Regions from separate parts of the Homo sapiens genome. Here all the other regions are linked to region 4. The links are contacts of gene promoters, found by promoter capture Hi-C in blood cells and fetal thymus (Javierre and others, 2016). All regions are on one chromosome and are shown on one strand. The core of a region is centred on a gene start or on the middle of the fragment in contact, and the rest is flanking DNA. Distances in the headings are between cores, read along the strand shown. Region 1 overlaps LILRB4 (leukocyte immunoglobulin like receptor B4). Region 2 holds the start of KIR3DL3 (killer cell immunoglobulin like receptor, three Ig domains and long cytoplasmic tail 3). Region 3 holds the start of LILRA2 (leukocyte immunoglobulin like receptor A2). Region 4 holds the start of GP6 (glycoprotein VI platelet). Region 5 has its middle 3.6 kb from the start of MIR8061.

What was found. Contacts are between HindIII fragments. The CHiCAGO score rates a contact against its expected background, and 5 or more counts as called.
Region 1: a contact is called between a fragment that was not itself captured here and the fragment with the promoter of GP6 in region 4, in 1 of 17 cell types (M2 macrophages). The highest score is 6.5, in M2 macrophages.
Region 2: a contact is called between the fragment with the promoter of KIR3DL3 here and the fragment with the promoter of GP6 in region 4, in 4 of 17 cell types (M1 macrophages, monocytes, M0 macrophages and 1 more). The highest score is 6.7, in M1 macrophages.
Region 3: a contact is called between the fragment with the promoter of LILRA2 here and the fragment with the promoter of GP6 in region 4, in 4 of 17 cell types (monocytes, total B cells, erythroblasts and 1 more). The highest score is 11.9, in monocytes.
Region 5: a contact is called between a fragment that was not itself captured here and the fragment with the promoter of GP6 in region 4, in 1 of 17 cell types (M1 macrophages). The highest score is 5.8, in M1 macrophages.

Annotation. Positions count from the first base shown.
Region 1 is chr19:54,664,433-54,667,132 of GRCh38, reverse strand. LILRB4 (leukocyte immunoglobulin like receptor B4) reads right to left here. Exons shown (of 12, transcript NM_001278426.4): 4 at 2,648-2,700; 5 at 2,284-2,334; 6 at 1,953-2,003; 7 at 1,202-1,318; 8 at 818-893; 9 at 697-734; 10 at 384-436. Among named protein-coding and RNA genes, the nearest start is that of LILRB4, 2.8 kb to the right of the region's middle. The HindIII fragment of the contact is 6,500 bases long and covers 1-2,700 here.
Region 2 is chr19:54,723,071-54,725,770 of GRCh38, reverse strand. It overlaps KIR3DL3 (killer cell immunoglobulin like receptor, three Ig domains and long cytoplasmic tail 3), which reads right to left and starts at 1,329. Exons shown (of 8, transcript NM_153443.5): 1 at 1,241-1,329; 2 at 489-524. The coding sequence starts at 1,274. The HindIII fragment of the contact is 6,556 bases long and covers 336-2,700 here.
Region 3 is chr19:54,572,519-54,575,218 of GRCh38, reverse strand. LILRA2 (leukocyte immunoglobulin like receptor A2) reads right to left here and starts at 1,429. Exons shown (of 8, transcript NM_001130917.3): 1 at 1,307-1,429; 2 at 1,108-1,143; 3 at 637-918; 4 at 186-488. The coding sequence starts at 1,340. LOC107985347 (a long non-coding RNA gene) reads left to right here and starts at 2,391. Exons shown (of 2, transcript XR_002958419.2): 1 at 2,391-2,483. The HindIII fragment of the contact is 11,294 bases long and covers 1-2,700 here.
Region 4 is chr19:55,036,838-55,039,537 of GRCh38, reverse strand. GP6 (glycoprotein VI platelet) reads left to right here and starts at 1,274. Exons shown (of 8, transcript NM_016363.5): 1 at 1,274-1,335. The coding sequence starts at 1,302. The region is part of intron 2 of GP6-AS1 (GP6 antisense RNA 1); the gene reads right to left. It also overlaps a transcript of RDH13 not described here. The HindIII fragment of the contact is 26,016 bases long and covers 1-2,700 here.
Region 5 is chr19:54,647,521-54,650,220 of GRCh38, reverse strand. It overlaps the pseudogene VN1R105P. Among named protein-coding and RNA genes, the nearest start is that of MIR8061, 3.6 kb to the right of the region's middle. The HindIII fragment of the contact is 1,235 bases long and covers 741-1,975 here.

The sequences.
Region 1 (2,700 bases), core at 18-2,517, 370 kb after region 4:
TCCCTGCTGTGTCTGCAGCTCCCATGGGGAGCCCCATCCACAGTGAGCTCCCTGGGAACACTCACTAGATGAATGAATGAAGGGGAGCCCAGGGGACTGGAGTGGTTCATTTATTCGTCATCCTCCTGAGGCCTGGGGAGCTCTCTAACAACCAGATGGCCAAACAGAGGATGAGGAGCAGGAAGGGGACCCGGGAGGAGGCCCATGAGGTCCCAGGACAGCAGGAGAGAGTGAGGTCCCAGCAGGCAGGAGGCAGCGTGCTGGACAAGGAGGGGTCCACCGTGACGATGCTGAGAGCCGGGGGAAGGAGGACAGAGAAGTCCTGCAGGATTAGATCTGGCACCAGGAGGCCTTTGGTGCCGGGGACAGGGGCGGGTTCTCACCCGAGTGTCCATTTCCACCCCGTCCTCAGGCTGTGTGTTCTTCACGGCAGCACCTGCTGGGGTAGAGCAAGGGGTTCATCTCCTGGGAAGGTTCCCTGGGACCTCTCATTCCTGCTGGTCCCTGCCCTGTTCCCATTAGTGCCACTGCAACGCAGGGAGGGGCTGTGATGTCCCCGAGGTCCCACAATGTGGGTTCAGACCACTTCTCCCTGAGTCCCTGACCAATCCTAGCCTGTGCTCCTGCCCCCATTGCTATTGAAATTTTGGGACCCCCAGCTCCACCCCAGGTGCACCTTCTCTGCCTCTCACTCACAGAAGTTTTCTCCCTGGACGTCAGCAGCTGGGCTGGACCTGGGGGAGGATACGGGAGTGTAAGGGGACAGTGAGGTGGCTGTTGGGATGGGTGGGAGTCTGAGGTCTTTGGGCAGAATTACCTCCTCTGTAGGCCCCCGTCCTTGGGCTCTGGCTCGGCAGCCCCTGGAGGACGTTGGAAATCAGCCTGTCTCTGGGCTGGGGGAAGATGGACAGAGTCTCAGCTCTGGGAACGTTAGAACCACCTGCCTTGCACATGCAAGTCAAGAGGAAAGGAAACCTGAAAATACACTTGCAAGGATGTTTTAAATACTTTCTAAGTTTAGAAAAACCGAAAGAATAAAGCACTTCCATTACTCCCTCATTCATTTTCTTCTTTCTAGATTTTCTCACTGGGAATTTCTGGAGCAGAGTTTCTAAGATGACCTCTCCTATCTGGAGTCCCTTTGGCTGGTGCCCTGAGCCCACCCTCCATCAGCCCACGGGTCCCCCAATTTCCTACTTACCCAATGTCCTGTGTTTTCCCTGACGCCAGTGTTGGAGGAGGAGGAAGAGGAGGAGGGAGAGAAGCAGGATGGAGACCACCAAGACCCCGATCAGTACCTCCCAGTGCCTTCTCAGACCTTGGGCGTGATGACATCAGGAATGGGGATGATGTCATTGATGTGCACACCTACTGTGTGTGCACCTACTGTGTGTGCTGGGTCTTTCTTTCATTACCTCCAACCCTCACAGCAGTTGTGCAACCTGAGATTGCCACCCTCTCTCCACCCATTTCACAGATGCACAAACTGAGGCTCAGAGAGGGGAATCGCCTGCCCCAGACCCCTCCAGCCAGGAAGCGGCAGAGCTGGGAAGGAAACCCGGGAGTCTGAGCTGCAGCCCTTGTTCCTGCACCAGAGCCAAGCCCCAGAGTTGCAGGGAAAGAGCCTGACTGTCTTGAACCACCGCCCTGCTCCCCTCCCCTGCCCCAGGTCACCGTCTCTGCTGCAGGTGGGACCGGACAGGCCCCTGCGGAATCGGGTCTGGGAGGTTCCCTGGGAGGCCTCCTCTCCCAGGAGGGCACAGCTGGGAGTCAGAGCTGAAAGGAACTTTCCCACCCGCAGGCCTCTCTCCTTTACACTTGGAGAAACTGAGGCCCATGCAGGGGAGGGGCCTGTCCACATCACCACCTCCAGAGGAGCCTTAACCTAGGACAGAACCCACCCTTGGCTCCCCTAGACCCTGCCCACCTCCCACTCAGAGCCCCTCACTCACCACTGTGGGGGACTGACCCTGTAGGCATGAGGGGCTGGTCCTCAGGGCCTGCTGGGTTAGAACAGGGATGTGAGGGCTGGGGCTGCCCTGCTCCCCACATCAGCTCGGCTTCTCCCCGCAACATCTCCTTCAGCCTTGACCCCCTCACCCCTCACCAGCCCAGCCTCAGGGCCTTGGGAGCCTGTGGTGCCTCCCAAGTCGCTGCCCGACTCCCACACCCGTGGAAGCAAGCCCAGCTGAGAATTGGAACGAGGACTTAGATCCACTGAGCATGTCTTGAGACAGGCCTCGGGCTTTGGAAACTCTCTGGACAGAGGCCTCTGAGACTCACCAGCTGTTGAGACGGACCTTGTGGGTGAGGGCCTGGGACCCTCCAAGGATCCTGGGTAGAAGGACAAGAGGAGGGTGAGAGTCTGGGGTTGCCCTTGGGTCTCCACATCAAATTGAACCTCTCCCTATATCTGCCCTGCAGCTTCCCAAGGACCATTTCTCTGTCCACCTGGCACCTTCTGGACCCTAGGTGAGGGAGAAGAGCATGGGCATGCCTGGGAGGGCCCCTGTTGTCCTCCTCCCCTCTGAGGGCTGAGTCCCCCACTGGCTGAGCCCCTCTCCCTCCATCCCTGCCCAGAGCTCTCCTGGCAGCAGGGCATGAACGGAGCCACTGAGCTCAGAGAGGACAGGGTCAGGAGCCTCACCTGAGACTATGAGCTCCAGGGGGTCACTGGGGTGTGACAGCAGGTAGTGGGAG
Region 2 (2,700 bases), core at 80-2,579, 310 kb after region 4:
ATCAGCTAATGCATGAACCATAATAAACAACTGAGCCCCTATTAGAAGATCTGGAATGTCAGGGTCATGACTGTGGTTCCCCCACCTCTTAGGTAGAATGACAGCAGCCACATTGCAGCCCCTACCGTCATGGAAACGCTGGAGGGTGTGAGTTATGCTCTTGTCCTCAGAGGCCTGTTGTTCCTTGCACTGCTTCTCTCCCTTCCTCTGCCGGTGACACCACTTCCTCCCTGCACACCACTCCTTTGAGCACTTCAGTCTCCCCCTGGGTCCCCACAGACTCAGCCAAGGGAAAGAAAGGCCGGGGAGGGCTAGGACAGAACTGTGGCGAAGCTTCCCCTGGCTTCCTTTTCCTAGTTCATGAGAGATTCCCACATGGCTTCCCATGGTCAGCCCATCAGTCAACCCCCTGTGTCGCCTGCCTCCCGTTTCAGGAGCATCATCTTATGTGGGGAGATGACAACCTAAGGTTTGGGGGAAGGACTCACCCACATGTGGCCAGGGCCCCTCCAGCAAGAAGAACCCTGGAAAGAAAGATCATGATGGATGATCCATCTGTACATCACCTCCAGGCCCATATCTCCACTCCAGGCCCATATCTCCACCTCTAGGCCCATATCTCCACTCCAGGCCTATATCTCCACCTCCGTCCTATATCTCTACTCCAGGCCCATATCTCCACTCCAGGCCTATATCTCCACCTCCGTCCTATATCTCTACTCCAGGCCCATATCTACACTCCAGGCCCATATCTCCACCTCCAGGCCTGTATCTCCACCTCCAGGCCCGTGTCTCCATTCCAGGCCCATATCTGCACTCCAAGCCAACATCTCCACTCCAGGCCCGTATCTCTACTCCAGGCCCATATCTACAGTTCCAGGCCCATATCTCCACCTCCAGGCCCATATCTCCACTCTAGGCCCATATCTCCACCTCCAGGCCCGTATCTCAATTCCAGGTCCATATCTGCACTCCAAGCCAATATCTCCACTCCAGGCCCATATCTACAGTTCCAGGCCCATATCTCTACTCCAGGCCCATATCTCTACTTCAGGCCCATATCTACAGTTCCAGGCCCATATCTCCACTCCAGGCCCATATCTCCACCCCAGGCCCATATCTCCACTCCAGGCCTATATCTCCACTCCAGGCCCATATCTCCACTCCAGGCCCAGATCTCCACTCCAGGCCCAGATCTCCACCCCAGCGCTCCCTCCCTCGATTCCCTTCCAGGACTCACCAACACACGCCATGCTGACGACCATGAGCGACATGGTGCTGCCGGTGCAGACAGGCGGCTGCGCCCCAGCTCAGTTCAGCAGCACACAGGATGTTGTGAGGGGCTCATGCAGTTTACATGCTGACCACATCATGGGAGGATGACGTATGCAGGCTATTTCTACCTTGCATGAGGCCCAGTGGCTGTTTGGTCAAGAGCGGAACATGGCTTCCTGGAAATTGTTCCAACTAGAATTGACACCTTGCATCCTTCACTATAACCAACTCAAAACACGTCTCAGATCCAATCTCTCATACAGGAGATGACTGAATGCTTGGCTTACATTAAAGACTTTTGATGTATTTTTGTTGTTTTTATCTGAGATTCAAACTCTTCTTCATGTGCTATTTTCCCCAGGCTGTTCTTTGACTTCAGAGTTCAAGCAATCCTCCTGCCCCAGCATTTCTAGCAGCTGGCAGTATGTCACAATCTGCCACACCCAAGTCACAACTTTTAGAACTTTTTTTTTTTTTGAGACGCAATCTCACTTCGTCACCCAGTTTGGAATGCAGTGGTGAGACCTCGGCTCATTGCAGCCTCCACCTCCCAGGTTCACGCAATTCTCGTGCCTCAGCCTCCTAAGTAGCTGGATTTACAGGCACCCACCATCACGCCCACCTAATTTTTGTACTTTTAGTAGAGAGGAGGTTTCTCCATGTTGGCCAGGCTGGTCTTGAACTCCTAACCTCAAGTGATCTGTCTACTTCAGCCTCCCAAAGTGCTGAGATTACAGGTGTGAGCCACCATGCCTGGCCGGGACATTCTATATGTGTGCGTATGTGTGCGTTTATATACATATGGTTATACACACACACACACACACACACCCTAAGCACTCACATATATAGTTGTTTCAAATTTTAAAAAATATAAATTTTGTATTTTTCTTTCTTTTTCTCACATTTGTGTTTCTATGACACCATATACATATTGAATTTTATAGTTCTATTTTATTCTTTTGGATTGCAGTTTAATAGTCCATACATAACTTTATCAACATGTAATTATCCACTCTTTTTATCATGGACATTTGTGTTGTTTCCGGATTTTCTCTTTTATAACTCGGGCCTTGATAATCGTGTTTCTGTGTGATCCCTTGCATACATATGCTGAATTAATTAGACATATTTACCTAGGAATGAAATTATTGGTTTTGGGTGCAAGTTGGTGTTGAGCTTAACCAGGAAGTGCCAAAATATTTCCATCATGACCAAATGTGGCCTGGAAAGTTTTTTGGGGTCAATTTTCCTGTTTCTTCTAAGGAACAAAATTGATGTCACTGATTTTTCTGTCCTGTTTGTCATTTATGAATATACGTACATATGCACGTATATATTTGCTTGCCATTTTATGTTTTTCCTCGACGTTACTTTGGAATTAATTTGCTGATGTGTAGTATTTCTGCAAGCGAAAGTTACCTA
Region 3 (2,700 bases), core at 180-2,679, 460 kb after region 4:
TCAGGCTTCCCCACAAACCCTCCCTCTCCCCCGCTGATCTTCCTGTGTCTCCGGCCCCAGGAGCCCTGAGCCCTCTCGCCCCAACATCATCCCACCTGGAGCTGCCCTGAGACGCGGCTGCTCCCCACCTGCCTGGAGACTCAGGGAGACTCAGGGAACTCCAAGCAATTCTGTGAATTTCTCACCTGGGACCAGGAGCTCCAGGAGATCACTGGGTAGAGACCACACATAGGGAGAGTTCGAGTCATAAGCATAGCACCTGTACGACCACCTGCGACTCGGGCTCACGGGGCCCACGGAGAAGATGGCCCAGGACCACCCACGGGCATGGGAATGGGAGTTCAGGCGTTGTGGGTGTTCATCTTCTCCTTCCTTACACAGAATGAAGCCGTCAAATGCCACCTGTGAGACACACTGGAGGGTCACGTTCCCTCCTGAGGTCACCACAGGGCTGGGCAGAGCTGAGAGGGTGGGTTTGCTGTAGGCTCCTAGGAGAGAAGGAGGCACTGTGTTAAATGGGGCTCCCACCTCCCACATCATCCCCAGGGTTGAGCTGTGAGAGCGGAGATGCCCCTGAGAGCCGACCCCCTTCCTGAGGGCAGAGCCTGGGGCTGGGACTCCTGAGTGTCCTCTCACCTGTCACCACCAGCTCCAGGGGGTCACTGTACTCTGATGAGTGATTGTGGCTGTAGTACTGACAGTGATACCGCCCTGCGTGTTCCCAGGTGATGGATGGGATGGGGAACTGGCCATTCTTCCCAGGCTCTTGTATCCGTCTAACCCAGGATGCTGATTTGTTTTCCCTATATAGATGGTACTCCTCAGCCTGAAGGCTCCCCTGACACCTGAGGGTCACAGGACTTCCCTGGATGATCACAGAGCCTGGCTCAGCCCAGAGGGTGGGCTTGGGGAGGTGCCCTGGAAGGAAATCAGAGGTCGGATTCTAAGTCATTTCCCACCCAACAGATCTCAGCTCTCAGCTGCAGGACCCTCCAGACACCCCCATCAGTCAGCCCAGAACTGCTATTCCCCATCCCCAGCTGCACGGGGGTGGCCCCTTGTCCCTAGTGAGGAGGAGGGACCTGGGACAGCTGGGAACAGACTCACCTGCCTGCACGTGGGTCCTGGGGCCCAGACTCAGCCCTGGAAGAGAGTTCCCTGTGAGGGATTTTTCCCCTGAAGCCTGGGCAGGTCCTCCCCTCCCTGGGATCTTTGTGAGCCCCTGGGGTCTCCTTAGGGACCAGAGTTTGGCTGTGGGGTGAGGTCCCTCCTAGGTTAGAAGCTCCCCTCCCTCTTCAAATCTCACCGAGACAGATCAGGACCGTGAGGATGGGGGTCATGGCGTCTCCTCCCACTGCCCTGCTCTGCGGATGGATGAGCCCTCAGTGCTGGCAGGACAGAGAGACGCACAGGGTGTGGACACTCGGAGGCTGGATCCTTCTTGTCATGGGGTTTTGTTATGTGCAACCACACAGGAAGTGCAACTGCCCTCTCAGGAGCCTGGCTGTCATACCTTTAGGGCTGAGGTGGGGGCAGGCACCAGGCCCTCTGCAGACATTTCAGACTGTAATGGGGTCTTTCCTGCCCCCCAGCCACTGTCTGTCTGGTTTATCCTCATCTCCTTGAGACCTGGGATGTAGCAGCAAATAGAACTGGTGCCCTCCTGCGTCTGCCCTTCCAGATGAGGGTGAGCAGAGGCTTCCTCTTCCTTCTCAGAGCTTCCCCATGGGGTCTCCCTCCCTCCTTCAGCCCGTCCATCAGCTCAGCGTTGCGGGGTCCTTACCATGGCGGTCGTCCCTCCAGCCCTGGAGATGCTTCAGGGAAAACCCAGGTCCATGCTGCAGTTAGACTCAGATCAGCAGAGACGCACCTGACACCTGGCTGTGTAGCTCAGGTTGAGCTGCGTGTGGCAGTGAGCACAGAGGAGTAATGCAGGGTCTACCATGGTGGCTCATGCCTGGAATCCCAGCACTTCAGGAGGCTGAGGTGGGTGAAGGCTAGAGGCCAGGAGCTTCAGATTACCCTGGGCCACATAGCAAGACCTTGTCTGTATAAAAAAAGCAAAAAATTAGCCAGGCATGGCAGCTCACATCTCTAGTCCCAGCTACTCAGGAGGCTGAGGTGGGAGGAATACTTCGGCCTGGGAGGCGGAGGCTGCAGGGAGCTATGATCACCCCTTAGCATTCCAGCCTCAGTGACAGAGTGAGACCCTGTCTCAAAAGGGGAAATGCAGGGATTAACTATAATAAAACATATTTGTTCTGTCTTGAGAGTGTGTGTTTCCTTCCTACCAAACCGTCCCTCTCCTGTACTTCCCCTTTTCTCTTTGTTGCAACATCACCCACCCCCACCCCGGGAATGAGGCTCTGAGTCGGTCCCGCCCCCTCAGTGTCCCTTGCGTCCTTGGCCTTCCCTCGGCACCTCCGTCCATGTTCAGAGTTTTCAGAAGAATTTGTTAGGTCTGTAATCTGATTCTGGGGAAGGTGAGCTGATTTGTATTTAATTCCTGATTATCATCCAGGGTTTATGTGACTTTGGACATGAATGTCACCTCTGAGCCTGCTGTCGTGAACCCCACTCATCACAGTGGCTGTGGGGGTCAGTGGTGCCCAGGACATGGGAGGCTCAGCCATGGTGAATTTCCAGACCAGTTCAGACAGGAGGGTGGGGACGGGAGAGGATCCTGGTGCTGGGCTCCAC
Region 4 (2,700 bases), core at 25-2,524:
CTCACTCTGCCGCCCAGGCTGGAGTGCAGTGGTGCGATCTCGGCTTACCGCAATCTCTGCCTCCCAGGTTCAAGCGATTCTCATGCCTCCGTCTCCCAAGTAGCTGGGATTACAGGCACCTGCCACCATGCCCGGCTAATTTAACGCCCAGCTAATTTTTGTATTTTTAGTAGAGATGGGGTTTCACCATGTTAACCAGGCTGGTCTCGGACTCCTGACCTCAGGTGATCCGCCCGCCTCGGCCTCCCAAAGTGCTGGGATTACAGGCGTGAGCCACTGTGCCTGGCTGATTTTTATTCTTTTAGTTAAGGCTGGTTGATATTACCTTGTGTGTATATACCACATGTTGTTTATCCATTGTTGTTGATGGACATGTGGGTGGTTTCACCTTTTGGCTATTGTGAATAAAGCTGCTATGAACACTGTGTACAAATATGTTAGAGACCCTGTTTTCAGTTCTTTTAGGTGTGTACCCCGAAGTGGAATTGCTGGATTTTATGGCAATCCCACGTTTAACTTCTGGAGGAGCTGCTGGAACTGTTTTCCACAGCAGGGGCGCCATGTTACGTCCCTGCCAGCAATGCACGCGCAGTTCAATTTCTCTGCATACTCACCAATATCTGCTGTTTTCCATTAAAAAAAATTATAGCCGGTCGGGTGCAGTGGCTCATGCCTGTAATCCCAGCACTTTGGGAGACCGAGGCAGGTGGATCAACTGAGGTCAGGAGTTCAAGACCAGCCTGGCCAACACAGTGAAACCCCATCTCTACTAAAAATACAAAAATTAGCCTGGTGTGGTACATACCTATAATCCCAGCCACTTGGGAGGCTGAGGCAGGAGAATCGCTTGAACCTGGGAGGTGGAGGTTGTAGTGGGCCGAGATGGCGCCACTGCACTCCAACCTGGGCAAAAAGAACGAGACTTTGTCTCAAAAGAAAAAAAAAAAATACAGCCATTCCAGAAGGTGTGAAGTCATATCTCACTGTGGTTTTGATGCGTATTTTCCTAGTGACATCAGGGAGTTTATGGGAGCACGGGAACACAGACCAGGCCCCAGCAGGCGGACAAACGGTGCAACGCCAGGCTGGCCAGAGGAGATAAGCGCGGCTCCTTGGAGCTTGTGTGCAAGTCACTGTACTGAGGAGCCGGCTACGGCTCGATGAGTCTCAATTAGGAAAGGCCGGGGCTGGTGGAGGAAGGGAGGAGAGCATTCTTCATCCTCATCACATCCTGAGCCTGTGCCCCAGGCTCCCACCACTTCCCTCCCTGGCCACAGAGCTCAGGACAGGGCTGAGGAACCATGTCTCCATCCCCGACCGCCCTCTTCTGTCTTGGTGAGTCCTGAGGGTCAGATCTGGGAAATGCTGAAGGACAGGCATGGACTGCCAGACAAAGGATTTTTAAGAAATTTGCATTGGTGATGAATTTCAGGACAAAAAGGAACCTGTAAGAGCCCCTTCATTTGTTGGGTGGGGAAACGGGGGGCCAGCGAGCTGGCATTTTGCATGAGTTATTCCAGTGTATTCATGGCTGGGTCAGGAAATGAACAGAGTATCCTAGCATTGGTCACAACTTTGTTCTACTACACTGCAGTTGCCCCTTTTTTAAAAAATGTGGGCCAGGCACAGTGGCTCACGCCTGTAATCTCAACCTTGGGAGGCCGAGGTGGGTGGATCACCTGAGGTCAGGAGTTCAAGACCAGCCTGGTCAACATGGTGAAACCCCATCTCTACAAAAATTAGCCGGGCGTGATGGCGGGTGCTTGTAATCCCAGCTACGTGGGAGGCTGAGGTGGGAGAATTGCTTGAAACTGGGAGGCAGAAGTTGCAGTGAGCTGAGGTCAGGCATTGCACTCCAGCCTGGGCAACAGAGAGAGCCTCCATCTCAAAAAAAAAAAAAAAAAAAAAAAAAAAGGCTGAGTGCCATGGCTTACACACTTTGGGAGGCCGAGGCGGGTGGGCCATCTGAGGTCGGGAGTTTGAGACCAGCCTGACCAACATGGAGAAACCCCATCTCTACTAAAAATACAAAATTAGCCGGGTGTGGTGGCACATGCCTGTAATCCCAGCTACTCTGGAGGCTAAGGCAGGAGAATCGCTTGAACCTGGGAGGTGGAGGTTGCGGTGAGCCAAGATCACACCATTGCACTCTGGCCTGGGCAACAAGAGCGAAACTCCGTCTCAAAAAAAAAAAAAAAAAAATTGTGGAATTGATATCTGGACTAGGTATGGATTTAATTTGTCAGTATCCCCTACAGTAGTGGAGTAAATAGTCTCCTGATGGATGGGTGGCAGGTCGAATGCATTTCTGCTGCCTGATCTTCACTTGTGCTGGGCATGTCGAATGCATTATTTCCTGATTTCTTCAGAATTTGACCACTAAAGGGACAGCATCTCCAAAAGGCTAAGCAGGAAGAAGATGGTTGCATTACTGGAGATGAGAGGGTTAACTGTGAATATAAACAACCTCTCATTCATTATCCATCCATGGATGTATTCTTTTTTTCTTTTTGTTTGTTTTTTGAGATGGAGTCTCGCTCAGTCGGTCGCTCAGGCTGGAATGCAATGGCATGATCTCAGCTCACTGCAAACTCTGCCTCCCGGGTCCAAGTGATTCTCCTGCCTCAGCCTCCCGAATAGTTGGGATTACAGGCATCTGCCACCAGGTCTGGCTAATTATTGTATTTTTAGTAGGGGCGG
Region 5 (2,700 bases), core at 109-2,608, 390 kb after region 4:
GGTGGGAGGATTACGAGGTTAGGAGTTCGAGACCAGCCTGGCCAACACAGTGAAACCCTGTCTCTAAAAAAAATACAAAAAATTATCTGGGTGTGGTGGTGTATACCTGTAATCCCAGCTACTCAGGAGGCTGAGGCAGGAGAATCACTTGAACCTGGGAGGTGGAGGTTGCAGTGAGCCGAGATCGTGCCATTGCACTCCAGCCTAGGTGACAGAGTAAGACTCTGTCTCAAGAAAAAAAAAAAAAAAGGAGTGGCCTGTGGGGAAACAGCAGTGCCCTCAATGTGGGGACAAAGCATCAGGAGAGACTGGGACTGCACGTCTGAGCCAGGGAGGACAACAGAGCAAATCACAGGCAAAGAGAGAAGAAGCCCAGCTGGGCCAGAGTGCATGGAAATAAGAGAGGAGGGGACACACGTGAGCAGTGCTAAGAAGGCAGAACACATGGTTGGACCTGATTAATGTTGATTGTGGGGTGAAAGAGAGAGAGAAGTGATAATGGTTCTTAAAGCTCTGGCTTGGCTAACTTAGTGCACTTTTTATCTGTTAGCTCCTCTCTTTTGTGTGTTTTTACTACTCTTTCTCATTTTAAATTATAGTAAAAAAAAAAACAAATGAAATAAAATTTACCATATTTACTCTTTCTAACTCTACAGTGCAGTATTGTGAAGTGGTTTGACATTGCTATGCAACCATCGCCATCACCATCCCCAAAGTATTTTATCTTTCCAATTGAAGCTTTATATTCAGTAAACACCAACTCTCAGTTTCCAGGCCCCCAAGCCTCTGTTAACCGTGATTCTACTTCCTGAGTCTGTGAGTTTGACAGGTAGCTCATATAGATAGAATCTTAGCAATATTTGCAATATTTGTCCTTTATGAGACTGGCTTATTTCACTTAGCATAATATCTTCAAGGCTCTCCATATTATAGTGTATGTCAGTCACAATTTCATTTCTTTGAGAGACTGAACAGTATTTCCTAGTTTCTATAACATTTGTTTATCCATTTATCCATCTTTGGGTTTTTTCTACTTTTTTGTTAATGTGAATAACGCTGTTATGAACATGAGTATATGAGCATCCTTTTAAATCCTTGCTTTAATTTTCCCAGAAATTGCCGGGTCATATGGTAATTCTGTGTTTAATCTTCTGAGGAACTGACATACATCTGGGTAATTTTTACACTGCGTTCATTTTTTGAGAGCCTAAGAAGCAATATGAGGCTATGGTTATTATCATTTTTATTCAATACTGAGTCCCAAAGTCCTTGCGTATTAACTGGCATAATGTATGATCCAACAGATATTGTGGGGAGAAGTGATTAAATAAAGGACGCAATTGTCTAGAGGGAACTTAGAGCCCAGAGACCACACTTGGAGCATTTGTCTTCCTTGTCCAGCAGACAGTGCAGAACTGTGAGACGCGGGCATCACTGACAATGAACCCAAAGGGGCTGAATGTCGGGAATCCTGCAGACACCAGGAAAGAGATGCTTCTCAGCCAATGGCTTGGGTTCTGAATCCAGGTTACCCACAGTGATAAAATACCAGCTAGACCATGAGAGGAGACAAACATGCTCACCAGGACGAGGATGGTGTGTGTGGCTCTAGTTTCATGAGATTTTCAGGGGGAGAGGCCGTGGCTGCGAATGCATTGGACTGTCTGCTTGTGTCTATATAAGAAGAGGATCATGGAGCTGCTGGTGTAGTCCATGAGGGCCAAAGACATACCATCCACAAGGGAGAAAATGACTGCATTTGCTAAGAATAGCAATCATCCTAGAATGGGTGAGGAGAGTACCTATACATTTATTCCATACTCACGTTTTTGCTCTTCATTGGGCCAGTTACATGCATTGCAATATGGGTATATGCCACAATTTGCAAGATCCAGCAGAGGGGGCAGCAGAAAACAATGCACTTTGTGGACCTAATTCGGAGTTCCATCCTCCTAGAGATACTGAGGTTGAAGCTTCATGGCCTGGAAGCCACTGGGGAGACAGGCGGTGCTGAGGGAAACCCCTCTGGCCACTCTGTGTATAGATAGAAGACAAGTTTCATCCAGCCTCGTCCAGGAAGGATTTCATTCCAAAAGCTGCCATTGTCTGGGGGATTCGTTTAGAGAAAAGAACCAGGTTGTTGGCTAAGACCAGCTGGCTGAGAATCAGGTCTCTGGGTCTCAATATCTGTGAAGTGATAAAAGTAAAGCTAAAAAAGTAAAGGAGTGAAGAATTTCCAAGGATTCCAGCAGCGGTCTGAGTGAGAAAGACAATACCCTGATTTAAGTTAACAGAAACCGATCCATCCATTATAGAAACGGTATCACATTTCCTCAAAATGTTAAAAATTGAACTATAAGACACCAGATTTCAACTTCCGGATAATTATCCAAAAGAACTCAAATCAAGATCTTGAAGAGATATATCCACACTGATGAATTCACTGCACCAGTATTCACAATAGCCGAGGTAAATAAATGACATAAATGCCCATTGATGGAGGAATGGATTAAGATAACATAGTATAATAAATATAAAGTTTTATTCAGTCTTGAAAAAGAAGAAAATCAGATCATTTGTGATAGCAGGATTGGACCCAAATGACATTATGCTAAGTGAAATGAATCCAACTCTTAATAGATAAATATCTTATAATCTCACATAATTGTGGAATCTAAATAGTGAAATTCATAGAAGCTG